4 separate regions of the Homo sapiens genome follow, and all the other regions are linked to region 1. Evidence: promoter capture Hi-C in 16 types of primary human blood cells and fetal thymus (Javierre and others, 2016). All regions are on one chromosome and are shown on one strand. The core of a region is centred on a gene start or on the middle of the fragment in contact, and the rest is flanking DNA. Distances in the headings are between cores, read along the strand shown.

Region 1 (7,025 bases), core at 1,911-4,410:
AGGTGAGAAGATTCGTTGAGTCCAGGAGTTTCAGGCTGCAGTGTTCTATAATGGCACCACTGCACTCCAGCCTGAGAGAGACAGATCCCGTCTCTAAAAAAAAAAATAAGAATTGTGAAGCCAGGTGGCGTAGCACATGCCTGCAATCCCAACTACTTGGGAGGATCACTTGAGCCCCGGAGTTTGCAAATTTAGTGCACCATGACTGCACCTGCAAATACCCACTGCACTCCAACTTAGGCAACATAGGAGAACCTCATCTTTAAAAATAAATAAATAAATAAATAAGAATTGTGGGCTTTTCATATTAAACTCTGGCCTGCAATCAATCTTTCCTTTGGATTAATCCTTATTTTTCACCCTTTACAGAAAAAAGACTTCAGATATTACACAATTCCTTGCCTTAAAACAGGTATCTTTGATTCCAACCTCCAAGACAGCTCAACTGATTTATCCCCCTTACCTTGGTAGGATAGACAGAGCTGGAGGGAAAGGCCACCAGGGTGGTGAGATCAGAATAACGTCGCTCTATGGTCTTCTTAGTAGCAGGACAGTAGTGGACACTGCGGACGACTTTGGGACGAACTAGAGAACCTAGGGATGGAAAATGTGCATATATAAACTCACCCAACTAGACGATGATACAGGTGGAACCCAAACATATGCAAGCCTATAATGACTCCAAATACTGTGTTTTTTTGACTAGGTTACGATATTTCAATATTACCTTTTATTCACTTTTTTATTTATATATAGACCACCACCATATCCATGTAAAATTTTAAGTACCACCAATCCCAACTAATAAATAGGTGGAGTTAGAGGTTGGAATTAGAGATTGCCAGGAACCAAGACTCCTCCAGCTCTCAGCAGAATTCATCATTCTACTAATACATGTGATTACTCAAGGTCCCCCAATCATTGTACACACTGAGCCCTCCAAGTTTTACCACGTAATTCCAATGCTCCACCTCTTTGAAGCCACAAGCTACCCAGATCTACTTTGCCTCTCCTGCTTTCCCCATCTCCCTGTCTATTCATTTCCTAAGCGGCCCCCTTTAACCCACTTACATTTAGTGACAATGCCCTCCACACAGACCACACAGCTGAGGAAGCAGGAGGTAAGAGTCCGCGGGGAGACGTGCTTGGAGCCAAAGCTGCCTTCCAGTCCTACGTAGAACTCCTCATACTGCTTGGCATAGGTAGCATCAATGGAGGCCACAAAATCCTTTAAGGCCCGCTGGAAGGCAACCAGCTCCTCAAAGGCATTGTTCAGAAGCCTGTACATAAGCAAGAGAAAGAAAAATTAGACTGGGCAGAACTCAAAAAAATGGATCCTCAAAACAGCAGACATTCTTAGATCATTAAAAACAATGAGAAAATCCAGCTTCTGCTTTCTCCTATAAGTCTCAGTAAAACACCATCCTATAAGACTCAGTAAAATACCAGAACTAAGGACCAACTTCACCTCAACTTATCAAAGATATAAAAATGATATTCAGCTAAACATTGGAAGGAGGGGCATTTGGGAGGAAAATGCCAACCACCCACTTTTTGAAAAAAAAAAAAAAAAAAATAGGTGCAGGTGAGCTACGAGGGCTTGTAGATCAATCCTGTTTCATACAAGTCCTCTCCTGAGAGGCTGTTCCAATCTGGCCAAGAGGGAAGGGAGCCATTCTCACTGACAGCCAGTATATCCCCTTGCCTCTCACCGGTTAGCCCTCTTCTCGTTTTTCCTGCGCAGGTCATTCACATTGACAATCAGCCGGTATTGGTTGTCACTGATCAGCTCCCGAACTTTGCTCTGATAAATTCCCTGGTCTTCCTGCAAAACAGCCACCACATATCACCATAGCCACAAATTTAAAAACAATGTTTCTAAACAGAAGTAGTTCTCATAGCCAGATAGCTAAGTCAATCTCTGCAGCAGAGCTGAATCCCCAGTAAGTATGTGCTCATCAATTTCTCCCTTTCATTCACTGTTTTTAGATTCGAAATAACACCCTAAGAGGGGACTATAAGAATTATAATGACTTCCTCAAGGTCCATGCTGTTATTCCCATCATCATGGACAACTTTTCTGCATGCTGTAATTTCTGTCTTTAGTGGAGAATTAAAATGAGCTCATGAGAAGTCTAAATGGACAGTAAGTGCAAACTTTGTTAAAATGTTAAGTTAAACCTAGCAATGTGAATGTTAAAGGTAACAACGTGAATAGATGGATATGTTGTTTCACTGTAGTAATCATTTCACCATGTATATCAAAACATGTGCACTTCAAATATATACAATAAAAATGTAAATAAAACAGACTCTTAATAGTCACATTAAAATGGCTTTTCATTTAAGAATTATGTAAAAAGTAATATTTTTTCCAATCATCTCTATAATACGGAAAGGGTTCTCATACCCCGACCTAAAGGAATAGAGAATCTCAGCTATTTGGTCACATCATCAACCCTTCAAGATGGTTTTTTCAACATTCTATGGCTTTAAGTCTTGGGTTGCACATAAAATCCCCTTGGCCTGCACACAAAACACTTTTTATCTGCATCTTAGTTGGTATTGAAAAAGAATGCAGCCGAATTATGGAGTCTTTTCCTCCAGGTAAAACGTCAGTCCCTAAAATCTGAGCACTCTGCAACGCGGCTGGTCACTATAGCCCTAGGGCAGCCCCTCCCCCACAGTCTCCTCAAATCAAGAGAGAGCAGTGAAATGCAAAAGGCCGAGGTGGGCTTTGCCAATCTGCTTGCACTTAATGGGAACCTGTCGCCTTTTGCGCGCCCGGACCATCGCTTGTACTTAAGAGAAAGCTGGCTTCCTAAGAGTTCACTTATCGAACACAAACTAGCGAGTCCGGCGTTGAGAAGTTACAAGATTGGGGCTGGAGGCTCGGGCCCGGCAGGCTCCGCTGCGGCACACGGTCTGGAGGTCTGGCGGGCCTCTGGCTTCCCGGCCGGGCCGCGTCCGCAGGGGCTCCGAGCGCTAGAGCCCGCGCGCCGGCGCCTCCCTCACCTCGTCGTCCAGGAAGTCCAGGTAATCTCTCTGAGCCTCCCGCAGCTCCACATCGTCCAGCACCACGGTACCCGCCATGCCCGCTGCCAAAGAACTACCTCCACCAAAGTCGCGTGGAGGTTCCCAGGATGACTCCACCCCGGCGCGAAAACTTCCGAACTCTTCCCGCCACCAAAGGTTACCTCGAGGAAGAGGCGGGGACCTTGGGAGCATATAAGCATTATGATTGGCTGAGTTCTCTGAGGTCGGACTAGCGACTGTCCAATCAAAAGCTTCTTCTTCTTCGGGTTTTCCGCTGCGCGCCCCGCGGTGGCGGGAAACGTACCATCCGGGATTCTCTGTTCCTCCCCTCCCTCCGCCTCACTCACTGACGAGCAAACTGACCAATAGGGCTGAGAGGAGGCTCACAGAGGCTGGTCATTGAGCAGCTGGAGGGGACAGGCTGGCGAGAGGGAAAGCATTGCGTTCTGGGAGTTGTAGTGTTCTCCCTCCTTTCCGGATGTTTTTGCAGGGTTTTTCAAGCTGCAGAACTTTTGACCCGATGCAACGACCAAATTCAGAGGATGGTGCTTTATAACGCAGGGAGATGAAAACATAAAAGCAAATCATTTTTAAGATATATCCAAATCAGAACTGCCCTCCAGTGGCATCCTAGTGTAAAAGTGGATTTTGAGAATCTATAGGATAGAATATAGAACTACAGTACCTTAGGGAAAGATTAGTTAAAAACCCATTTGCTATCTGATACCGTTGCCTGACGAACTCCATAAAGACATCGCCGCAGAGAAGGATGAAGTGAAAAAAAAAATCTGTGTTTACCCTGCCCCCTAGAGACTTCATCGTGTGTTATACAAATTTTGGAAACCGTTACTACTCCATCTTACTTAATAACAGGTAAATTAAAGGCTTTCTGGTCTTATAAAAAGATCACAAGATCCTTTTAAGTAACTTAGCTTACTGAACGATCAGCTCAAGAGGGGAAAAAGTGTTTCACGTCACTTTGATTAAATATCAATCAGTAACTAACAGCAAATCTGAAACCATAATGACTAAAAGATCATCGCACGTCCAAATTTGTATGTTTGTTTTCAGTCCGTCGTGGTTGGCTTTTTCTTATATTTCTAGTTTTATTTTGAGATATAATGTATATACAGTAAAATGCACAAATCTTAAGTGTACAGCTCAGTGAATTTTTACCTGTGCTTACACCCATGTAACCACTCTGCACAATAAAGAGCAAGCCCATTGCCCCAGCATGTGTTTTTAATTTTACTGAACAAGAAGCTGAAATACTGGATTGCCCAACATCAGACATTTGATAATTCTTTATCTGAAATTTCAGCCAACTATTAGCTTATGTTTTAAAGTCTTCAGGACTCACTATGTACTGATAAATATTCTAAGAATAATCTGCCTAAACAAAATATATAGGCCATCTATTTGTGTGGGTATATGTATTTCTAGTTATTATTCAGTTTATAGTTACTGTATGTTTTGTGCCATCCTAGTGGGCAGATAAATCGATCCTTAGCCAAAGCAAAAAGGCTGTCATTTGACTGCTTGCTTTTATGTTTATTAACGGGCAAAAAAAAAAGAAAATTCTAGAATAAAGATACTGTTTGCCGTTATATAGCAAGAGGTAATTACTGATTTATTAAGACTTTTTACTCATAACTCTTATTTTATGAACTTATTGGACAGAGTACTGAGATATCCTCTGCTCTGGAAACAATTTGAAATTAACACTAAAAGAACCGGGAAGCTTAGTTCAAACTAGCAAAGAAGTCGAGTCATTTGTAGTAGAAAGTCCAAAAGAGTGGAAATCTGAAAACCACATCTTTGATTCTCACACTTTTTTCTGGGCTTGTTTCCTTATATACAGTATAAGATGAAGAAACTGAATTAGAATATCTCTGATAATCTGTCTTACTCTAACATTCCATGAGCTAATGGCAAATTTGGAAACTATGTAAAGACAATTCTATTTAATGAATTAATCATGCCATGGTCTTTGATAAAGACTTGATTTGTCCCAATATAATCATCTTCAGCTGTGAAGGACACACCGCTATTTAATTGGTGTTTCTCCCTTCTTTCATTAGGGCATGAAATCTTTAAGCAGAGGAAATGTATTTCCTTTGTTATCCCCGACACCTGCAAACTGCCCAAAATCAATCAGGTTGTTGCTACAGAAAAATTAGGGGCATTTGTACATATCTCATAAAAAGTCCAGCTGAGCTTAGCCCGTAGTCCTCCTCTATCCTGATTCAAAATTAAAAAGCACATATAATCTAATAAAGTAGTGTATCTACAGTTTCCATACTTGGGTCACATTCCTGCTTTCCTCCATTTCAATTTTCTTTCCACCCTAGACTTTAATGGACTCAAGCCCATCTCCAAGGCTGCCTAAACGCTAGGGGGCTCCCTGGAGAGCAGAGTATACAGGAAGAGAATGGAAAGAAAACAAGATTGCAAAGAGATTGCAAAATAGATGTAATACTGCCATTTTTCTATGTCCTCAGGGTCCAAAAAATACCCAAAGACACAATACAAATCCATAATAAATATTATTACAAGAAATTATATATACCTTTGTTCAAACTAATGAACATTATATGTTGCAAAACATTTCAAATAATACCCTGTAATTAATAACTTGTTTAGGCACTCAGGAAAGTGCCATAATTCATTAGCAGTCCTTTGACATTTACTCAAAGGCCACCAAAGCTTGGAGGTGAGCAAATCTATGCCTCCAGGTGTCACAGCAGCTCAAGGAATAATCTGTAGGCACAGGCTTGCCCTAACCTCACAGTTCTGCAGTGTGAAGTCAGAATCTTCAGATGCTGTAGCATCTAGAGTTTCAAGCACCAAGACAGGCAGATTTGGTTACTCTTTCTGGCTGCTCTGTATATTACCTGCACGACTAGGCAACTTACTTAACCACTCTGTGCCTCAGTTTCTTCACCTTTCAAATTAGGTTAGTAGTATCTAACTCAAATGTTTAAGTATCCAGTGAAGTCATAACAGATGTAAACTACTGAAAAAAGTGCCTGGTATGTAGTAAGCATTAAATAAATGTTAACCATTGGTAGTGGTGGTGAATGGTAGTTGGAGAGGAGTCAAGGGATAGGAGAAGGGGAGGAAGCACTGTAGTGCATTCTGAAACAATTCAGACAACCAAATTCAAACCCCCTTCCCACTTCCACCAAAAAACTTACAATACAACCAACCCAGACACTTCCTTGAGTGGGACCTTTTTCTGCTGGAAGTCCAATTGGCTAAAAAAAATAACATAGGCAGGGTGTTGTTTGGCTCGGATTCCGACAGTGTTGGAAGCCATCAGATGCATTTACTCCATGCTCAAAGAACATTATGGAATACTAAATGGACTCCTTTATAAAACTCTTTTAAAAGAGTCTGGTCAGCCGGCACAGTGGCTCACACCAGTAATCCTAGCAATTTGTGAGGCCGAGGCAAGTGGATCACCTGAGGTCAGGAGTTCAAGACCAGCCTGGCCAACATAGTGAAACCCCGTCTCTACCAAAAATACAAAAAAATTAGCTAGGCATGGTGGCCGGCACCTATAATCCCAGCTACTTGGAAGACTGAGGCAGGATAATCGCTTGAACCCAGGAGGCGGAGGTTGCAATAAGCCAAGATCACGCCATTGCACTCCAGCCTGGGTGACAAAAGTGAAACTCTGTCTCAAAAAATAAATAAATAAACGAGTCTGATCACCTTTCTTGTCTCCCTTTTGCACTCTTCTGTTGCTTCCTGGAGTCCTTCCGGTTAGATATGCTAAAAAGAGCCGGAAAATCCAGGAGCCAGACAGAGAACATCAGTGATCATGATTTTCCCATTAAATATAACAACACAGTTGGCTTGCCAACAATTAGTGATTCATTGGTATTTGCCAAGGTTAATTTCAGTAATCTGATTTCTTAGTCCGTAAGAAGTCATCCCCATTCTTTTTCTTTCTGAGAGATAGGTTCACTATGCTGCCCAGAATG
Region 2 (7,250 bases), core at 3,043-5,542, 1.1 Mb after region 1:
TGTGAGGGGCTCAGTGCAAGGTCTGACATACAATAGCTCAGTAAGAGTTAGCCATTATTATTACATCAATAACTTGCCTTTCTCACCTTTTCTTCCACTCCTGCCTTCTAAACCAGCTTCTGCCAATTGTGCTATTTGCTTTTTGCCCAATGATTCCACACTCGCTTACTCTCCAAACTCCCTCTTGCCTAGAACGCATGTCCTCCTATTCCTGCCTATCAACTAAGAGTCCTTTACAAAATGTAAGGCTAAATTCTAATTTTAATTCAAGTCAATTTAGTTTAATCCAATCATCCATTCGGTCCTTAAAACAGACGCTGTAGCTGACTTCCTGTGTTCTGCAGGCCCTTCTTAAAGGTGAAGCAGCTAGCTGAGGAGATTTAACTTCACTTCCCTGGTTCTGGGATGGGCCCCCAGCTTATCAAATGTCCACTGTTCCAGTTATTGCTTCAAGTAACCAAGGCCTAAGTCAATCACCTTAAGGTAAAGGACTCTTTGGAGGGTGGCAGGAAGTCAGGGAATCCCCATGTGAGATTATGGTGGCAGCTGCTGTCAGTCATCTTGGAAAATCAGTCTAGGACATAACAGACATCTGAGGGGACTTCAGAGAAATGGAGCAAAAGTCCTGCCCTCAGGACTTTTCAGGTCAGATGCACAGGTAGGTCTCAGTTGGGTTTTCTGTTTCTTGCACCAAAAGCATCCTGACCAATTCAGGAATGCTAGGCCCTTAACATGGATAGCTCTGCCATAAAGCTTTCTCAGATATAAAGATATAAGTGTCCCAGAAATCTGCTTCTGACTCTCTTTTGGTCCAAGGTGTAGATTAAGTATGTGTATACAGGCTTAAAGTATATACTAAATCAGGAAACCCTCTGGAATCAGGAACTGTTGTAATTCATTTTTGTATCCAGCCCCTCACACCCAAAATCAGTAACTGAGAAGTCAATGAATTAATTTAAAAAATGAATCAAGTGTGGGCTACAAGGAAGGGAACAGATTTTAGACAGATTTAAGAGACAATAAATTGTTAGTCTTGGATGGATTAACAAGAACCTTTAAACACAAGGTTAGATTTTTAAGTTGTGGAGTAACAGTGTTACATAATGGCACAGAGCCCACTGGGCAAATAATCCTGGCAGCACAGGGATATATGAAGGAGCAGAGATGTTGCAGGAGACAGAGCTATAGGAATTTGGACAAGTCACTTGTCATCTCTAGGCCTTAATCCTAGAGATTCTTTTTTATTTTTCTTCCACTTTAAGTTATGCGATACATGTGCTGAACGTGCATGTTTGTTACATAGGTATACATGTGCCATGCTGGTTTCCTGCACCTATCAACCCATCATCTAGGTTTTAAGCCCTGCGTGCATTAGGAATTTGTCCTAATGCTCTCCCTCCCCTTGCCCCCCACCACCCGATAGGCCCGGGTGTGTGATGTTTCCCTCCCTGTGTCCATGTGTTCTCACTGTTCGACTCCCACTTATGAGTGAGAATATGCAGTGTTTGGTTTTCTGTTCCTGTGTTAGTCTGCTGAGGATGATGGTTTCCAGCTTCATCCATGTCCCTGCAAAAGACACGAACTCATCTTTTTTATGGCTGCATAGTATTCCATGGTGTATATGTGCCACATTTTCTTTATCCAGTCTATCATTGATGGGCATTTGAGTTGGTTCCAAGTCTTTGCTATTGTAAATGGTGCTGCAATAAACATACGTGTGCATGTGTCTTCATAGTGCTCCTCAATTCTTAAAAAACAACTGGGGGATAAAACCTCACAGAGGTGTTATAAGAATTACGTGTGGAAAGCAACCGTTTATGTACATGTGCGTATTAATAAGTACCTGACACAGAAAGCATTCAAGGAAAGACTTATTTACAGGTAACTAATGAGAGGATTAGCCTTTTGATAACAGAAGAGCTGGTAGGCAAAGAGGAGGAATTAAAAAAAAAAATTACAAAATCTTTTAGGAGAGAAGAATGTAGCCAGGAAAGCAAGAGGTAAAACTCTCTCTTCACACTAACTACCCACCTAGGCACCAAAGTTACCCTCAAGAAAAGTAAACAGTTTTGCTTTGATTTGTGTAATTCAAGCTGGAAATAAGACACCCAAGGATGGATGCTCACCTCTAGAAGCAGGAAGACAAGCAACCATTATGCAGGGAGCAAAAGAAGAGGTAGTGGAAAAAAAGATTCTTGCAAACAGAACATCCAAAAATTAAGGTCTGTAACCAAGAAGAAGCTGTTGATTTCAGGGAATGGGAAGGAAACATTTTCAAACCACCATTTGGCAGACTCAATGCTGGGCTCTCATTTGCATTATCTCTTGAAATCCACAATGATCCTGCCACATAAAATCCCCATGTATAGACAAGGAAATTGAGTCAAGGAGGTGAGGTCAATATCTGAAGTTACAAGATATTTTTCTTGAAAAACATCAAATTTTAGTAAGCCTTCTACTGTCGCTTTTCAGCAAAGTTCTGTACTACATTCTGTAACATTACCTATCTGTAACTATCAATAAAAATTTCCCCTTTGTCTTCAATTAGAAATAGAAACGAAAATGCAAAAAGAGAAACAGTACAGAAAAAGTTCCTGGCAATAAGAAGTTAGAATCTAGGGTAAAAATCTAAAAGGAAAATGAGTAACATTTCCCTTTCAAGTGCAGAGCTTTCCTGGAGAATCCCAGGCAGTGTCTGAGCTACCAGAAAAGTAACCCACTTGTCCCCAATCACAGATGGAAGGCTAAAATGTTTGTCCACGGCCATCTAATGCAAAACCGCCTGTTTCTATCTGTAGATTCTGCACGAAATGCTTTTGGCTGAGACGTGCAAGCAAAACAAGTGCAGACCAACAGGTTATCTGCCAAGCGGTTAGGAGAATGAGTTACAAAACCTGACAAGCAACATCAGCTCTTCCGTACAATTCTATGAAGCACTTCCTGCCACGGGTCCCGCTATTTAAAACAAATTAGGCTGCTCGCTCCCCACAAATCCCATCTAGCACCTCTCGGTTCCTCAGTCTAGCTAATAAACCATGCACTGGATTCTTCCGAAAGAGACCCCCCGCCCCCGACCCCGCCACCTCCGCCACTTTGCATAACTGGCCAAATGCATTCTCCAAATTTGCAATCAAGGAGCTTAATTCACAATTGTGGATGGGGCGGGGGGAACCGCCAAGTGCAAGAACACGGAACGGTTGCAAGACGCAGTTCAGCAAGAACAACTCTTGCTCTAGGCATTGCTCCGTCGACCCGAGGTGGTGGGGTGGGAGAGTCTTACCGGCGTGGAAACAGTAAAAAGGCACTTTTCCTTACAACTCGCAAGACAACACACACTCTAGCTCCCCCGGCGCAGAGCACAACCGCCCCCCCGCCGCGCGCCTCCCTCGCAGCCAACCGCTCCCGCCTCTCCAGGGATCAGGCTCCCAGAAAGGGCCGCCCCGGTCGCCCCCGAGTCCCCGCCCTCTCGCTTTCCCACCAGCCTCATCCCTCCCTGAGTACCAAGGGCTGCCGTTGTCTGGTTTCAATAAAAACTGAAGCGGTCCCGAGCTAGCAGGCTTCCCTCCGAGGGGCGGACGGAAGGTCCGCAGGGTTAACGGAAGCGGAGAGAACAGGACAAAAAGGAAAGGCCGGAGAGTCCCCCCAGCGGCGCCCGGTGCCCGCAGACCCTCGCACAGGCTCTTCGAACTCACCCGGGTTTCGCCGACTCCAAAGAAAGCGCGCTCCCTCCGAGAGCGCTCCCCCGGCTCTCCCGCCGCGCGCTCCGGCCCGCAGGGCGGGAGGACCCAGGCGGACAGATCCATCCCTCCGCGTCTGGTGTGGGCACGGTGTCGTGCCCCGCGGCGCCTGTCAGCGCGCACAGGTGGGACCGCAGCACAGAGAACGCTCCCGAGCGCCCTGCCTCAGCCTCGGCGTGGGGCGAGCCGCCCGCGCCCGCACCCGCACCCCTTTCCCCGCGCCCGAGGAGCCGGGCTGTACCCCGGAGCCGGCGGAGCTGGAGGCCGCGGGCGGAGCGCGGGTTGCCCCGGCAGCTCTTTCTCGGCACCAGGTCCGAGACCTAACGGCAGTTCTCTCTGACCGCTTCCCGGCCGCGCGCTCGCGCGGGTGTCATGGCCGAGCGGCGGCCCCCGACGAAGTTTCCCGGAGCTGACGGCTTTACCTTTTAGCCCAAGGGGCGGCAGCAGCTTTGAGCAGCAGCAAGGCGGCGGCGGCGGAGGGAGCGCGGGTGGCAGCCGGCGCAGAGGCGGATGTAGAAGGAGACACCGGTGGCTAGGACCCGCGCGATGGGAAGAGGAAGGCGCCGGCTATCTACAATCAGAACGTGGGCTGACCGTGACGTCACAATGGCGCGGCCAGCCAATCGGGACCCGAAGGATGAATCAAGCGCTATGATGTCATGCGGCCCGGGAGCCAATCGCGGGACAATAGAACTTTCGTGATCGTAAATTCCAGAATCCGATGCGGTGGAGAGCCTAGGCCGGGGTTGGCCCCTCGGTTCCACGTGTCTCTGGGAAATTTTTTTCCCCTTTCTTCCTAATAAGCCTGCGTGGAACGCAGAGCCTGCGCAATAGCCCCGGTGAAGTTGTCGATGCCCTGAACTCTGGTTTTTTTACTGCCAGGCGTGGCAGGAGTCTGTGGCCGCATTTGGGTGGCAGAAGCCCACCCTCGTTACGGTCTCCTCTATGAGTTATGTCATGCTGAAGGGGATCCACTTCATCGTTAAAGCTGAAAGGGTTAAATGCCCACGGAGACCGCCGGAGTGAAGGTCTGCAGTTGAACAAGATAAAGGAACAAGAACAAAACGACTCAAAACTGTTGTAACCATAACTCCCTTGCAAAGGATTTACCGTGTATTTTTCTTAGGGATTCTGATTTTTCTTTGGAAGCCACTATCAACTCCATTTCTACTCTAGAAATTATTCTAAAGGATTGTTAAATGAGGAAAGATGGAATCAGTGTCTTTTCAGCTAAGCATATTTAAGCACTTAAGACAAAGGGGGTTCAGGGCATAAACGGAAGATCCTTGCTGTTTTTCACTGATATTTGGATAATTAAAGACCTTCATTAGCTTTGTATCCTACTGTTTCCCCATTCAAACCCCAGAGATTTAGCCTTTCTTCGTGTGCCCCTCTTGCTGTATTCTTACTCCTCTATGTGCATCCACCTAACAGTCGGCTATTTAATGTAGGCAAATTTATTCTTTTTTTTCTTTTTTTTTCTTTTTTGAGACAGAGTCTCGCTCTGTTGCCCAGGCTGGAGTGCAGTGGCGCGATCTCAGCTCACTGCAACCTCCACCTTCCGGGTTCAAGCGATTCTCCTGCCTCAGCCTCCCAAGTAGCTGGAATTACAGGCACGCGCCACCACACCCGACTAATTTTTGTATTTTTAGTAGAGATGAGGTTTCGCCATGTTGGCCAGGCTGGTCTCGAACTCCTGACCTCAGGTAATCCGCTCGCCTCAGCTTGCCAAAGTGCTGGGATTACAGACGTGAGTCACCGAGCCTGGCCGGCAAATTTATTCTTTTACATATTTACAATGTAATGCTTATCACGTGCCAGCTGTGTTCCAGGCAGTGGGCCATTGCAATAGGAATGCAAGTATACAAACCATGTACAAATTAAGTAAATTAAACATATACAAAGAATCGAGATTGTCAGTTGCCATTGAGCTCCACAAACACTGAATGACTTCAATTTGCTAGATACTATGTTAGGTATTCAAAATTTGAAACCTTCAAGGACTTCTTGGGCCTGGAAAATGATACAGTCAGGAAGCAACTACAATGCAGAGTGGTAAATGCTGCTATGGACATCAAGGGACATGAGAAAAGCATATGCTGGTGGCATAGACTATTTTTTTGAGATATCTCCTTCATTCTTCACGCTTCTGCCAGTAGTCCAAGGCCAGGGTTCATCTCTGTCATCCCATCTAAGTTTTGCCTTTCCAGGTTTTAAAAGTTTCTAATTTAACTTGAGATTCCAAAAGTCTTAAGTTTTACGCCGCACTTGTTTGAATTGTGCTTACCTATCAATAAAATGTTTTAAGCCCATTTGACCAAAATATCTTTAAGTTCAGGCTTATATAACTGTCAAGCTATGCATTAAATATCAAGTGATTTTTCTTATTGTATGATTAAGTATGACGTTTTGCTGTTTTTTCCCATCCCCCAAAGGCTGCGTTTTTACACAGTTCTTTGTTGATGTGTGTATCTTGGTTTCCATTATAGCATCACCACCCTGTATTGTAGTTGCTTTCTGATGGCATCATCTCACTCAATCCTTGGGGTATATGTACCCCACTTTAAAGACCACCGCTTTAGGTAGTAAACTCCGTTGAAGGGGAAAACATGTTGAATTTTGCTCCTTATTGATCTGTAGATCTTAGTACAATCCCTGGCATATAAGGGCTCAATAAATACGTGTTAGATGAGTGAATCTGTGAACAGTTACTCCCCCTCACCATCACCATCACTTTTCAGCTCCAGAGTTCCAATCCTCTGTCAGATAGTCACATCCCAGGATTATTAGATTATTAACTCCTCTCAAACATGTTGGTACGGTCATGTTCTCATTAGTTCTCCAGCCAGAGACTTAGAGTTCTCAGAACATATATATATATGCAAATGTATTATTTTACATATTACAATGTAATGTTTATCATGTGTCATATATCTCTGGGGGAAACTTCCTCCCACCCTAACAATTACTTCGTATTTCTGCATCATTGCACTCATGAGTAAAGCTGTAAGAAAAACAGTGGAGCCGAAACGACTCCCCAACTTAACTGTGGGATTTTTTCCAAATAAATCAAAAGAATACCTAGGATCCAATGCCAGGCTTACTAAATAACAGGGCTCAAGGAACCTGTTTTAGGTAGCATCAGAATCAGATTCCTGGCCAGCTGGGTTCTGGAAACTGTGCTGAAGCCATCCTTGCCCTTCTAACCCACCTATCCAACAATGTGAGCCCATGTAAGGTACAGTTAACAAAACCTTGTAACTATTACCTGTTTGTTCATAGCATCCACATGGTAGTCCCCCAAGAAATGATTGTTGAATTATCTTCATTCAATAGCTAACTATTAATATTTTCTTCTTTCTCCTTCATGTATTTATTTATTTATTTATTTATTTATTTTTGAGATGGAGTTTCGCTCTTGTTGCTCAGGCTGGGGTGCAATGGCACGATCTTGGCTCATTGCAACCTCCACCTCCCAGGTTCAAGCAATTCTCCTGCCTCAGCCTCCCAAGT
Region 3 (6,970 bases), core at 2,709-5,208, 1.4 Mb after region 1:
CATGGATTTTCGGTGGAGCTAGTTTGTCCCTGTTCAAAACAAGCAGTCCCACATGGGGAGGCTCCCCTCCAATAGTAACTCTTTCCGTTTGTCCATTTGTGGCCCTGCCATCTCCAGCAGGCTCCCAAAGCTGTCCCAGGATCAGTCTCCATTACACCTCACCATCTTCAGAAATGTGGCTCTGTGGAGTGCCTCCAAAGCAGGAGCCGGTCCTTCTTTCAGCTGAATTTGCCACCCCTTATTTCTTTATGCAATATCTCACTCTCCTTGATATGGCTTGGTTATGTCCTCACCCAAATCTCATCTTGAATTGTAGTTCCCATAATCCCCGGGGGAAGGATCCGGTGGGAGGTAGTTGAATGATGGGGGCAGTTCTGGTGATAGTGAGTGAGTTCTCACGAGATCTGATGGTTTTATAAGGGGCTTTTCCCCCTTTTGCTCAGCACTTCTTGTTGCTGCCGCCATGTGAAGAAGGATGTACTTGCTTCCCCTTCAGCCATGGTTGTAAGTTTCCTGAGGCCTCCCCAGCCATGCTGAACTGTGTGAGTCAATTAAACCTCTTTCCTTTATAAACTACTCAGTCCCAGTTATGTCTTTATTAGCAGCATGAGAATGGACTACTGCGCTCCAAGTGTCTCTGGAAGACTCAGGCCCAGAGATTCACTGTCCATCTCCAAGGACTCTGCATTGAGTGACTTGTCCTCAGTATTTTTACCCATGAGGGAAATGAAACACCTTCAATGGAGACTGGTCTGGGGTTCCGAAGGGCACCAGGGATTGGGCTGCAAGGGTTCTGCTTCCAGGAGTCCCTGTTTATCTCTCATTTTTGAGTCAGAAAAAGGCCCCTGGGTATCTGTGTGTAGGCTCTACCTTCTCAGGTTTCCCCGTGTCTCTGAAAACATGGCTGCCCATGAGAAGTATTTAAAGAAATGAACTTTACCTATTAACTTATTTAGCTCTCATATGAGACAAGGTGATGTAATCATAATGGCTCTTAATTTCAGAATGCAAGCATAAGACCATATATTTTACACACACACACACACACGCAGAATATATGTATATATGCACACACTCACACTTAAATGATGTGTGTGTGTGTGTGTACTTAGTAAGCACTGAATAAATGCTTACTAGCTAAATGATGAAGCTAGTCCTAACCTGTTTTTGAAGAATTGGCAATTATAGAGAAGATGCATGCAATTTAAAAAATTTTAATGGGGACATAGCTATAGAGATATCAATCTTTTGAGTTTTTTTTTTTTGAGAAATGGAAAGTGTTGGTTGCATAACTCCTTCCACCTGTAATGTGTCTTAACAATTTAATTTTTGGCTTGCAGCAAGTTTGGAAAAGTCCTAGTTATCATGGTTGTGTACTTTAATGTGCTTCCCTCTAGTGATTACTGGGGTAAGGGAAAGTGTTTTGCATGCAGTAGATGCTTAATAAGTATTTGCTGATTAAATAAATGAGTAATATTGGAATAGAGATCAGCAAGCAGTAGGTCATGATGGTTTTATTGTTTCATTCACTCATTCACTTATTTACTTCACACACAAAAAATTGATCTCCTGCTATACACCAGGCATGACTCTAGACACCGGAGGTACATCTGTGAACGAGACAAAATTTTCACCTTTAAGGATGATATTCTAAAAGAGATGGCAGAACATAAATCAACAGGAAAATATCCAGAGATGGTAAGCTATGATGGCACGTAAGCATGGCGAGATTTGAACAAGGGAGGAAAGGCCACTGGGCTGGAGTTGTTGAAAGTTACAGCCTAGGCCAGAAGCACAGTGCTGAAGCCTGAAGAGGGCAGAAAAAAATATCCCAACCACTTGCTTCTGCCCTCTGACCTCCTTCTGATACCTCCCGTTGGATGAATAAAATGTTCAGCCAAAGAGCCTGAGTCTGGATGATGTAGTCCCTAGGGGACGGAGCACAGAGCAGGGCAGAGAAAGACAGAATATGATCAGGGGCATGAGGCTGGGAAATAATTATGTCTAATGAACATTTGTTAAACAACAAAGGATTCTTTTGGCATACAGAATTTTCTTTGCTACTTATATGCAGAATTGTAATGAAATAAAGCATTTTTCAGTTTGGAACTCTGCAAAAAATGGAAACGTTTCATTAATATTGCAGAATAAAACTTGAGAGACAGATTACCACCATTTAGCTTCCTTCCCCCTCTTCCTTTCAGGAATACTCTTCTGCTAATGGGGATTAAGAACAGATGCGTGTATGTCCTCTTTTAGACTCTACATGTGTTCTCTTCTCCCCAAATCGTCATGTATTGGGAACCTGCTAGTATGGCTAGAGTGGCAGGAATTAAGTCACAGATGTATCATTTTCACTCAACATTCTTTTAGAAGAGGTTAGATCAAGAAGAATTAAGACGATTCCAGAAAGAGAAGAACAAGGAGACCCAGGGAGGGAGGGGTGAGGAGGGCAATTCTTAACATTAAATGGGTTTATTTGATGGCTGTTGGGAACCAGATTTGTGCAAACACTCAAGGCTGGCAGAATACATTTAATACATGCTCTTGACCTGTAAGGGCACTGAATTGAGAAAAGGCTACAAGAGTTGTCTGGGCTTGTTCTTCAGAAGAAAAAAGGCAAGGTATAATAGGGGAGCTGAGTACATGTCTTGTGACCCAGGAAAGGGAGAGAAGAGCATTGTTATGGTGTGATCAGGGCCAGAGCAGTGTGGCTGAGGGGAGGCAGTTTGACTGGGAAGCTCTTTGCTCCTTTGGTAACCAGGTATGAAGATGACTAGCCATTCATTGTGCAGAGACAATGCTATATGAAAACTTTACTTTTCCTCCTGGACATGAAGACCTTTTTCTTAGCTCCCTTTCATCTAAGTAGGCCAGATGGCTGTTCTGGCCAAAGAGATGTAGACAGAATTCAGCACAGTGCTGAAGCCTGGAGAGGGCATACATCATGTCTATACCTGGCCTAGCGAAAAAAGATCCTGCCTAGTTTCCCACTGTAATTGAGAGTGGAGACATCCCCAAGATTGTTGTGGGAGGCTGTACAAATCTGTAGGGAAGCTTGGAGTAATGTGGGAGTTTAAAGAAAATGCAAAGAAACTCTGAGGCATCTGGCTGGTCTGCTCAAAATTTGGACTGTGGCACCAGTTGTTTTGTGTTTGAGGCTATCTAGTCTATTTATATGATTACAGGGCTTGGAGAAGTTTAAGAAAAGCATTGCTGCCATTTAGAATTTCCTAGATTTGATGGCCTCAACTGAATGTTATTATTTAAGTACTACATTAGATCAAAGGTTGAGCATCTTATGTTGGTTACATTTTACTTGCTCATTTGGAGGGGTAAGGTAGAAGAGAAAGGCTATAAGGGATTGTCTACACAACAATGCGATTTTATTTCCTAAAACGTTTTGTTGCAAATGATGATGAACCTGTGACAAGCTGGCTGTGGTCAGGGTGGAAACAGGAAGAGAAACCACACTTAACCTACGACTTCTAAATAGTCGGGGCTGAGCTAGACCAGAGTTGGGCTTTTCTTTGAGTTACAAAGCAAGTCTCTACTGATGTTTTATACCTTTTTCTTTCACTAGTCTTCAAGCTGTTGAAACATTTTTTCAATTACTTGTCATTTGCTGTTGTTTTGTCTAGGTGAATCATCACGAAAACTAAGTAGAGAAAAAAACAAACACCCCAATCATCAGAGAAAGGATATTTCAAAACTGTCCATATTTAGTCATTGACTAAGGTCTTATTGAATGCAGCTTTATTGATAGTGATGAGATTACAAAATAACACTACATACATTTTAGTTTGTTGTTCCTTATATAGTACCAGAATGTTTTAAGCAAAGAAAGAAATTTTTTTGCCAAAATTTGCTGAATAAATAAAAAGTTTTTAAAGAATATCCAGGACAAATAATTTATTTCAAATTCCCTGAGAGGGCAAATTAAATGGTCTTTACCCAGTGAATGTGCTGGAGGGTAAATCTTTAATATTTTAGATTGTTTAATTCTTATAATTACGAATAAAGGACTGTTTGGAAAATTATTCTGTAGGTTTTTTGGCATGAAAAGAAATACTGAAAAGTATTTCCTTTTAATGCTGCCTTGTGCTGGAGAACATATTCATCAGCGGCTGGAATAGGGATGTAGTTCATTCAGAGATTACATAAATTCATTTGGTTGTAACTAAGGGAAAAAAATTAATGAGGTGATTTTAGTTTATTTCGTCTCGTAACTTGGATGAGTTCTGAAGACACTTGGCCAGGATAACCAGCAAAAAAATAAAATTAAAAAATTGACCTTTTAGAACGTACATATTTCCAGGTAAACCTCTATTTACATGTGTATTTGTAAAATACACTTACTACAACTGCTGCTTTACCTTAAATCATAGAACCATTCAGTACTCACTTCCTCATGACATCAATTATACCTCCTCACTCATAACACTTCACTACCATCTAATCATGTTTTAAAATTATACGAATCTGTACCATCACTGACCTTCTATTCAAAACCATTCTTACAACATAGGAAGTAAAAATAAAATTCATTCAATGCACTGAAAGCAACTAATGCATCAGGGATGACAACTTGGCACCAAGAACCTAACTAAAAATGGACAAAGTATGTTAAAGTTTGGCTTCCTGGAGACTTTCTCATCAGGTCTCTGGCCCATTTAGAAAAAGAGAGCTTGAATTTTATTATTTCAGTTGCTGGGTAACATGCAATTTCCCTGATATATTGAACTGATGCTTTTATTTGATCACAGGACTCAGCCGTTACAAAAATAACAAGTCATTTTCTTTAATAAAAAATAAAAGGAAGTATATGGTTGGGTCCTAAGACTCTGGAGTAATTGAATGTAAGCTTAAAACATACTAAATATTTTCCACTTGGGAAATCTGGAGAAACTAGGTTTCTAGGAGCAACTGCTTCAATAGTTGGTGTAAAGAATATGTTTCACTTACACATGAAAGTGGACACATATTATTTTGATTCTGCATACTTTTATGTCTTTCAATTGGCAATGCAAGATGTTCCAGGATATGAAACTTTCACCGACCCTTACATTCCATACTCCTCGCCAATGTGTTATGTCAGAAATTCTGACATTCCAAATTCATATTGGTCTTTATTTTCCTAACTGTTGAAGCAGAAGATAGAACAGCAATGCACCCAAGAGTCTGGTAAGCTCAAATATGTGGATTTTCTGAGTCTTCAGATAAACAATGTAGAAAATAAATTAAATGGTAATTTTAAATGATTTATCCAGCACTAACATGTCTCCAGTTTCATCTCTAGAAAGCCACTGCCAAGTTTTTGCACAACCTAATTTATCAAGCTTTGATAGATGAAAAATCCTCTAGTTTCAGTATCTCTTCTCATTATTCCATCATGTAATGTTGCAATTGATTGATTCTCATTTCATTTCAAGCCCTAGGTCCTCCTCTTCATACAATACTTCTAAGATGTCAATGGGAACACATCTATTGGTGTGCATCAAGGAATTACATCTATTCACTCACTTATGATCTGTAACCCACAATAAAACACCCTTTTCTCCAAAAATTAACCATATACTATAGGCTTCTCAGTTGTATGAGTGTGTGCGTATACACACATATACATACACCAAGGTAATATACCATATCCACATATACCAAGGTAAAAGATTCTTTGTGTGGGATAAGGAAACAGCCCAGCGCTTTTACATTAATAATATCTTGTTCTTAATTTACAGCGTTTGTAGCCCTTACCTGAGTGTTATCATTAAATATCCAGAGATTGAACTTTTCATCGGGGTAATGATATAAAATTGTTCCACAAAGTGTACTATATGAACCACTTTTCACAGTTCAAATAACATATTTTAGAAATAAATATCATAACTAGCAATAACCTATCTACACAAGGTGGAGAGGATGAGATTAACAAAAACCAAATTATATTTCCATATATCTCATGTTCAATTCCTAAATAGCTTGTTTTATTTTTCAAAATCCAATTGCACATAACCCATAATTGATAGGCCACTTCCTCTCCAAAACAAATAAACTGTCAAAGAATAAAGTGATAAATTATAAAAAAGGAAAATATGTATCATTTACTACAGTCATTCCCTTTCCCCAAAACTTGGCAAACATATAGGAAAAGTGCTATCAAGTGGGTACACTTTGATTATAAATCCAAAGCTCATTTGGAGCAGATGAGATTAATAAAAATAGGACAGAATGAGTATATATTTTTATATACGTGAGATGAGTGCTTGATTTTTACTTAAGAAATCAGGAGGATCCATATTAAATGGGAAACAATGGCATTTATCAACAGGAGAACCCATTCATCCAGTTACTACCAAATCTACAAATTCCAAATGTTTCTATCATTCTTATCATATAAAAGATTGGGGCAAATAAAATTATTGTTATTGGTTGTGTAAACTTCAAGCTCTCTAAGCTTAAGGCTAATGGTCCTTAGGGACATAGTTTTATTTGGTGATCTTCGCGGGGTGTACATTAGGGCCAAGGTTGCCTTTAACCAGGTTGGTGTAGTTTTTAGGGTGAGGGTAAGGCTCCCAGGGTATGTGAAATTCTTCTTTAATAGAGGACAAGGGATAAAATGCAAATCCTTCTAGTTGAAACAACCAAATGACTTAAATTTATGCTATAAATTAAATGATTCATATCAATTACTTCATTGAGAGCATGATTTTATGGTAGAAAATAAACTGGGGCCTGAGGCATGGAGGAAGAGGAATGTCCGCTAACACAAAGGTTATCAAATTTAGGGTCCCTGGGTGGAATCCCTATTCCTTTTCGGTCAGATCTTGTTTTAAGCTTTATTACGTTGTCATGGGATATCTTTCAAAATCCTTTACTCAATCACATATGGGGGGAAAATTGCGTTGAAATACAGAATTAAATCTTAAGTCTTTATGGAGATCGACAATTTCCATTTTTAAATAAATAAAAT
Region 4 (7,616 bases), core at 5,063-7,562, 1.2 Mb after region 1:
CTTAGGTAAATTGTGTGTCACAGGGGTTTGGTGTACAGAGTATTTTGCCACCTAGGTAATAAGCATAGTACCTGATAGGCAGGTAGCTTCTCAATCCTCACCCTCCTCCCACCCTTCACCCTCAAGTAGGTGCTGGTGTCTGTTGTTTACTTCTTTATGTCCTTGTGTACTCAATGCTTAGCTTCCACTTATAAGTGAGAAGATGTGGTGTTTGGTTTTCTGTTTCTGCACTAGTTTGCTCAGGATAATGGCCCCCAACTCCATCCCTGTTGCTGCAGAGGACATGATCTTGTTCTTTTCCATGGCTGTGTGGTATTCCATAATGTATATGTACCATATTTTCTTCATCCAACCTACCATTGATGGGCATTTAGGTTGGTTCCATGTCTTTGCTATTGTAAATAGTGCTGCAATGAACATACACACGCACGTGTCTTTATCCTAGAATGATTTTTATTCCTTTGTGTATATACCCAATAATGGGATTGCTGGGTTGAATGGTAGTTCTAAATTCTTTGAGAATCACCAAGCTGCCTTCCACAAGGCTGAACTAATTTACTTTCCCATCAGCAGTGTGTAAGAATTCCCTTTTCTCCACAACCTTGGCAGCATCTGTTGTTTTTTGACTTTTTAATGACAGCCATTCTGACTGGTGTGAAATGTATATGTCACATTTCGTTTAAGTCTGCATTAAATCTGTAGATCACTTTCAGTAGTACTCAATCATAACGGTATTAAGTTTTCCAATCCATTAACACAAGACGGCTTTTCAAGCTTTCCCTTTTTTGTGAATTTTTTTTCATATCCTTTGCCTTTTCTAGGCAGTCTTAATATCTTTAATTGTCAATGTTTACCAACTCTTTATATATTAAGGACATTCACCTTTTGTTATATTGTGTCACATATTTTCCCCAGCTAGCTATTCAGCTTTCCATTTTAATTTTTTTTGGGGGTGGGTGGGGGCGGGTCGAATCTCACTCTGTGGCCCGGGCTGGAGTGCAGTGGCATGATCTCGGCTCACTGTGACCTCCACCTCCTGGGTTCAAGTGATTCTCTGCCTCAGCCTCCTGAGTAGCTGGGATTACAGGCACTCGCCACCACATCCAGCTAATTTTTGTATTTTTAGTAGAGACGGGGTTTCACCACGTTGGCCAGGCTGGTCTTGAACTCCTGACCTCAAGTGATCCTCCTGCTTCGACCTCTCAAAGTGCTGGGATTACAGGCATGAGCCATCGTGCCCGGCTTAGCTTTCCATTTTCTTGATGATGTTTTGCTATGAGTTTTATATCAACTTAAAGTTTACAGTAGTCTTTTGAATTTTTTTTAAGGATAATTTTTTAAAACTGCACTCAGCTAGAAAAATAGCTAGCATTTATTGAGTGCTTACTATTCTATAAGCACTATCTTAAATGCTTGACTTGTACTAGTTCTTTTATCCTCACAACTCTGTAAGTGCTATTATTACCATCCCTACTTTGCATACGAAGAAACTAAGGCATAAGCAGGTTAGGTAACTTCCCCAAGGTCACATAGTTAAAGTCAAGCAATCAGATGCCAGAGACCTTGTTCCTTGAGCTCTATGTTCTACTGCCTCCTGTCCTTATTTGTGCCTTTTTCTCTCTATTCATGATCAATCATTTTATATGTTTATCAGGGAAAATGACTAAGAAGCAGGGAGTCTTTTTTTACTATACTTTAAGTTCTGGGGTACATGTGCAGAACGTGCAGGTTTGTTACATAGGTATACACGTGCCATGGTAGTTTGCTGCACCCATCAACCCATCACCTACATTAGGTATTTCTCCTAATACTATCCCTCCCCTGGTCCGCCCAACCCCTGACAGGCCCCAGTGTGTGATGTTCCCCTCCCTGTGTCCATGTATTCTCATTGTTCAGCTCCCACTTATGAGTGAGAACATGTGGTGTTTGGTTTTCTGTTCTTGTGTTAGTTTGCTGAGAATGATGGTTTCCAGCTTTATCCATGTCCCTGCAAAGGACATGAACTCATCCTTTTTATGGTTGCATAGTATTCCATGGTGTATATGTGCCACATTTTCTTTATCCAGTCTATCGTTGATGGGCATTTGGGTTTGTTCCATGTCTTTGCTATTGTGAATAGTGCCGCAATAAACATGTGTGCATGTGTCTTTATAGTAGAATGATTTATAATCCTTGGGGTATATACCCAGTAATGGGATCGCTGGGTCAAATGGTATTTCTCGTTCTAGATCCTTGAGGAATCGCCACACTGTCTTCCACATGGTTGAACTAATTTACACCCCCACCAACAGTGTAAAAGCAGTCCTATTTCTCCATATCCTCTCCAGCATCTGTGGTGTCCTGACTTTAATGATCACCATTCTAACTGGCGTGAGATGGTATCTCATTGTGGTTTTGATTTGCATTTCTCTAATGACCAGTGATGATGAGCTTTTTTTCATATGTTCGTTGGCTGCATAAATGTCTTCTTTTGAGAAGTGTCTGTTCATATCCTTTGCACACTTTTTGATGGGGTTTTTTTCTTGTAAATTTGTTTCAGTTCTTTGTAGATTCTAGATACTAGCCCTTTGTCAAGTGAGTAGGTTGCAAAAATTTTCTCCCATTCTGTAGGTTGCCTGTTCACTGTGATGATAGTTTCTTTTGCTGTGCAGAAGCTCTTTAGTTTAATTAGATCTCATTTATCAATTTTGGCTTTTGTTGCCGTTGCTTTTGGTGTTTTAGTCATGAAGTCTTTGCCCATGCCTATGTCCTGAATGGTATTGCCTAGGTTTTCTTCCAGGGTTTTTATGGTTTTAGGTCTTACATTTAAGTCTTTAATCTATCTTGAATTAATTTTTGTATAAAGTGTAAGGAAGGGGTCCAGTTTCAGTTTTAAGAAGCAGGGAGTCTTTGCAAGCTCAAGGTAGGATCTTTGTCAAACAGGAAATATGGTATTATGCAGCAGTGAAACGAGGTCAGTTCTGAGTCCTCAGTCTAGGTTACAGGAACAAAGTTAAGAGTTTGTTCTTATGAGGAATAGAACTGAGTATGTCTCTAGGTCAAGAAAAACACTGTGGCAAAAATGAGAACATTGAGCAACTAATTCAAAATTTCATATGGAACAGTTTCAATAACCATCGGGTAAATGACTTCTTATGGTGAGTGTGCTCAGAAGTGCTCACTAATACTGGTTGATTGAGAGTGATATTTACAATACCAAACAGTCATGTCATTAATAGTATAACAACTTTTTCTTACCAGGGGCTTTTTTGAGCCAGTAAAGGAGAGGATCTTCCCTAGGATTTTTGTTTGTTTTTAAGACTAGCAATGTGCTAACTGCATCCCTTCTACATCCATGAAAGAGAATGCACCCTAGGCTCTCTAGACCAAACTCAGGCATGCTTTACTTGTGGCGTGCATTCAAAAGGAGGAGAACATGGTGAAAATGTCTTGAACATCATTCTAGTAACCATAGTGATACCAAAGCAAACCTGGATCCTTATCTCATATCTTGTTTATTTTTCAGAAAGAATTTATTTACACATAGACCTTTAATTTTGAAAAAGATGCCCCTCTTTGTTATTTGATTGTGTAAGTGATGTTTTGTTGGCCTTGCTTCACAGCAAGTCTCTGTAATACCTCGGTATGTTGCCAGTGGCTGTCTCTGTCCTCACAAACAAATGTTCCATACTTGTCTGACCTGGGCAGCCAGGCTATGGGGTCCAAGGAAGGATAGAACACCTGGAAAGTGACAGCAATGTTTTTGGGGTCAGAACTCTCAAAGTGGAAAAGTTATTCAAGATCCAGCTGCAGAATGAATGAGCACGTTCTCTGCTTTTAAAAAAAAGTTTTATTTTTTAAAAAGAAGTAATAAAGCTGGGCATGGTGGTGCTCTCCTGTAGTCCCAGTTGCTCAGGAGGCTGAGATGGGAGGATTGCTTAAGCCCAGGAGTTTGAGACTAGCCTAAGCAATACAGTGAGACTCCATCTCTAAAAAAACAAAACAAAACAAAAAACAAAAACAAAAAAAGAAAGAAAGAAAAGAAAAAGGAGTAATAAAGAGAGATATTGGTGCCTCACTGCTCTAAAGGGCTTTGAGGAAACAGTTCTAGGCTCTCCACAGAATTTGGAAATGCATCCTGGGGGGGTGGACTGTGAAAAACATCTGAGACATAAGCTCTATGTGACACTTGGTGGGTACTCATGAACATTCAGGGTTCTTGAGGGCCTGAACTGCTTGTTTTGGTAGCCTTGCATTTTCAGGGCAACAATCCCTGGCATCGAGTGGACCCTCAAGAAATATTTGTTAGCTGCCAGATGCAACTTTCCGCTGTATTGTCAACACTTTTTCAAAACACGTCACTGAGGATTTCAGTAACTTCCCAGCAGCTACAAGGAATCTTGGGAACCTTTTCTCTAGGCAGAGCAGGCTATTTAATACCCCATTTGTAATAGGGTGATTTAAAGATACTTTGAAAGCCAATCTAAGAAAAGACATTTCTCCGATGGTGCCTGAAGTTCGATGCATAGAGGTTTTTCTTTCTGTTACCCTCACTAAGTTCTTTGAAAATGCCTACAGAAGGGGTGTTCATATCAGGCCCTTGTGCTTCACGAGAATAAGTTGATCGGGTAAAAATTTTCTCCATAAGAGAGACCACTATTGGGAGGGGGCAGCTGCCCAGTTAGGAGGGTTAGACTTGTCCTGCACCAATATTGTCAAGCAAGTGGGCTCAAGGGTCCCTCTGGACTCTCCTACTTAACCTTCACTATTGGCTTAAATATAGGAGTGACCATCCCCTCTCCAGAAACTGGCCTCAGTCCTGTAGCTTATTTCTTGGGATCAGTGACCCACCTCCACTTTCCACCACCTCCAGAGGCTCGAGAGAACCTGTCCCTGTCTAAACAGCCATTATTAAATGTGACTGTATTTTTTTCTCTATAGGAATGATGTATTTTCTATTTAAAAAAAAAAAAAAAAAACTCCCACAATCTTTGTGTGACTTGCATTTGAGAGCGGCCAAAGGACCTACTTGCAAAGCAGTGCAGAGGCTGACATTTACTGATAATCTGCCATGCACGAGGCACCCGGCCAGAGGGACGCTTCCTGTTCAAAATGACTGTTAGGCAGATGCTATCATTTCCATGTTACTGAGAACAAAGTTGAATCTCTGAGAGAGAAAAAAAGGAACATTCACAGGGTCACAAAGGTGGGTTGAATTCCAGAGACCCTGTTCTCTCTACAGCAAGGAAAATTACCCATACCCAGGAGAGCAGGGAAATGTCATAAATTCTTTGTATGCCCTCACTGCACTTTGCACAGGGCTTGGAGTCTTTGATGGAGAATGCATGTAACATAACCCACTGAAATTAAGCTTAAACAAAAATGATACTTTGCTGGGAGGGATCCTGGTCACCCCCTAAAATCCGAGGAAAGTTGAACAACCAGGCCTCAGTACCAAGAGTTCTTGGGTTTTATATCTGTCTAATGCTACACCCGCAACTGGACTAAATAACCTGCATCTCTGTCTCTTAGTCAGAGTTCTCAAGAGAGAGACCCTAATTGGCTCCTGGTCAGCCAATGAACTTCCTCCTCCTGAGTCAGGTGTTCACTTCTAGTCCAATCAGCTATGACCAAGAGTCAAGCAAAAGCAAAACTTCCGGGGGCTAATTCTGAAGTCTGCCCAATGGTGTCTACTGTACCCAGATATAATTCAATACATGTTTATTGTCTGGTGTTTTTTGTGTTCATTCGTTGCAACCAAGTTCTTTAAGAACCTTGGATACATCGTCCTTCATTTAATCATCAGGCGGGGGTTGATAGGCCATAGTGATCAAGAAAAATATGTGAAATTTCTATATGCCAGTTATCGCTGTGTTAAAAACCTTCAGAGCAAATTAAGAAAGGAGAAATAAACTATTTGTTCTCAAAAGCTTGGTTTCAAGGGGACCGAGGAAATGGGAAAAGCATCTGTGGACAAGGCTATTGTGCTTGCTGCTGGAAGACTACCAAGGCCAGTTACTAAACGGGTGGGCAGCAACAAGTAGTTGCTTTGTTTTTTTTTCCCCCATAGGAAGTTGTTGTCTCTGTTTTGCAAGTTTGTCAAATTTCTTTTGTTTCTGGGGTCAATAACCTAGATACTTGAGACTCTTTTTTTCCCCTTCCGAGGGTCCTAATTTTGCATTTTACGTAACACCAATCTTGACCAAAAGCTGATTTATTAAGGAGGTTTCTTCTGGGTTAGTTGTTGGTGCTGGAGGCTGCGTGTACATGACTTAGTCTTCTACTGCCACCATGAGGGAGATGCTGGAATTGCAAGGCTCTTTTAGTTATCAAATGTAAATTTTCATAAATGAAAGTGAGCACGTTTAAAATTATCTCTATCTATTTATCTATCTATCTGTCTGTCTATCATGTTCATATATATATAAAATGGAACAATCCACCTCCTAAAACATATCCTCTGAAAGGCTTAAAGAGATATATAGTATTGCCAAGTGTGTCTGAGTTAGGTAGGCGAGGGTTTGAGACCTGCCTCTGCCTACCACTACAACCGCCCTTACACTAGACATTTAAGTCTTCTAAGCCACAGGTGTAAAAATGGTCTGATAGTACCCATTTCACAGGGCTTGGTATTGAAAAAATGACATAGCCTGTGTCAGTCTCTAGCATTTGGTAAGTACTCAATAAATGATTACCATTGCTATCACCTGAAATTGACCACGGCTGAAAGTATTAGAAAAGCTTTCTGCAGGGAGAAAGAGGGGTGAGGGTGGAGGGTACCAGTAACCCCGTGAAAACAAACACCAGTGCACAACTGGAGTGGATGCTCAATAAACATATGAAAGGTTCAGGGGAAAGGGGTAAAGTCACCAGGGATGGCTCTAACAGCCAAAAGAGGGATGGAAAACACTCTTTTAAGCTGACCATTTTAGAGTCAAAGAACCAAAAATATAGAATGTTCGTGTGGTAAGGATTCTAGATATGTACTCCAGCTTTTTTTTTTTTTCAAGTGGGGCAACCGAGTGATTGAATCACTCTTCAAGTTAAAATGTTAATCAGCAGTAAAGTGGGACTAGAACCCAAGACTTTTGTTTTCTTTTCTTTTCTTTTTTTTTTTTTTTTGAGACAGGATCTAACTCTATTGCCCGGGCTGGAGTGCGATGGCACATTTGTAGCTCACTGTAACCTTGAAGCCCTGGGTTCAAACAATCCTTCCGCCTCAGCCTCCTGAGTAGCTGGGACTACACTCACACACCACTGTGCCCAGCTAATTTTTATTTTTTTGGGCAGAGACAGGAATCTCACTATATTGCCCAAGCTGGTCTGAAACTTCTGGCTTCAAGTGATCCTCCCGCCTTGGTCTCCTAAGGTGCTGGGATTACAGGCATGAGCCACTGTGCCCACCCCCTCAAGACTTTTGACAAATAATCCAGAGCTCTTTATATATAAGCACCAAAATATCAGTCAAGATTAGCCAAATCAGGATTGTCTTGGATTGAAAAAAAAAATGGGCAAGTTGCTTAACCTGATTATGCTTTAGTTTCATTACTGGCAAAATGGCAATCATAATATCCTACTGCAGGGGTTCTAGTAAAGACTGAGATGCCACATGGAAAGCATTTAGATTTGTGCAATAA

Evidence for each region. Contacts are between HindIII fragments. The CHiCAGO score rates a contact against its expected background, and 5 or more counts as called.
Region 2: a contact is called between the fragment with the promoter of ELOVL5 here and the fragment with the promoter of MCM3 in region 1, in 3 of 17 cell types (non-activated CD4 T cells, activated CD4 T cells and naive CD8 T cells). The highest score is 6.6, in non-activated CD4 T cells.
Region 3: a contact is called between a fragment that was not itself captured here and the fragment with the promoter of MCM3 in region 1, in 4 of 17 cell types (total B cells, non-activated CD4 T cells, naive CD8 T cells and 1 more). The highest score is 6.3, in total B cells.
Region 4: a contact is called between a fragment that was not itself captured here and the fragment with the promoter of MCM3 in region 1, in 1 of 17 cell types (fetal thymus). The highest score is 8.9, in fetal thymus.

Annotation. Positions count from the first base shown.
Region 1 is chr6:52,281,582-52,288,606 of GRCh38, forward strand. MCM3 (minichromosome maintenance complex component 3) reads right to left here and starts at 3,161. Exons shown (of 17, transcript NM_002388.6): 1 at 3,016-3,161; 2 at 1,713-1,825; 3 at 1,072-1,280; 4 at 464-594. The coding sequence starts at 3,093. RefSeq lists enhancers at 3,039-3,118, 3,439-3,638 and a silencer at 5,718-5,787. The HindIII fragment of the contact is 4,216 bases long and covers 1-3,285 here.
Region 2 is chr6:53,344,658-53,351,907 of GRCh38, forward strand. ELOVL5 (ELOVL fatty acid elongase 5) reads right to left here and starts at 4,293. Exons shown (of 8, transcript NM_021814.5): 1 at 4,160-4,293. RefSeq lists a silencer at 3,694-4,133. The HindIII fragment of the contact is 17,438 bases long and covers 752-7,250 here.
Region 3 is chr6:53,644,182-53,651,151 of GRCh38, forward strand. KLHL31 (kelch like family member 31) reads right to left here. Exons shown (of 3, transcript NM_001003760.5): 3 at 3,735-6,970. Among named protein-coding and RNA genes, the nearest start is that of KLHL31, 18 kb to the right of the region's middle. RefSeq lists a silencer at 6,950-6,970. The HindIII fragment of the contact is 1,807 bases long and covers 3,056-4,862 here.
Region 4 is chr6:53,478,564-53,486,179 of GRCh38, forward strand. All of the region lies in intron 3 of GCLC-AS1 (GCLC antisense RNA 1), which reads left to right. Among named protein-coding and RNA genes, the nearest start is that of GCLC-AS1, 51 kb to the left of the region's middle. The HindIII fragment of the contact is 811 bases long and covers 5,908-6,718 here.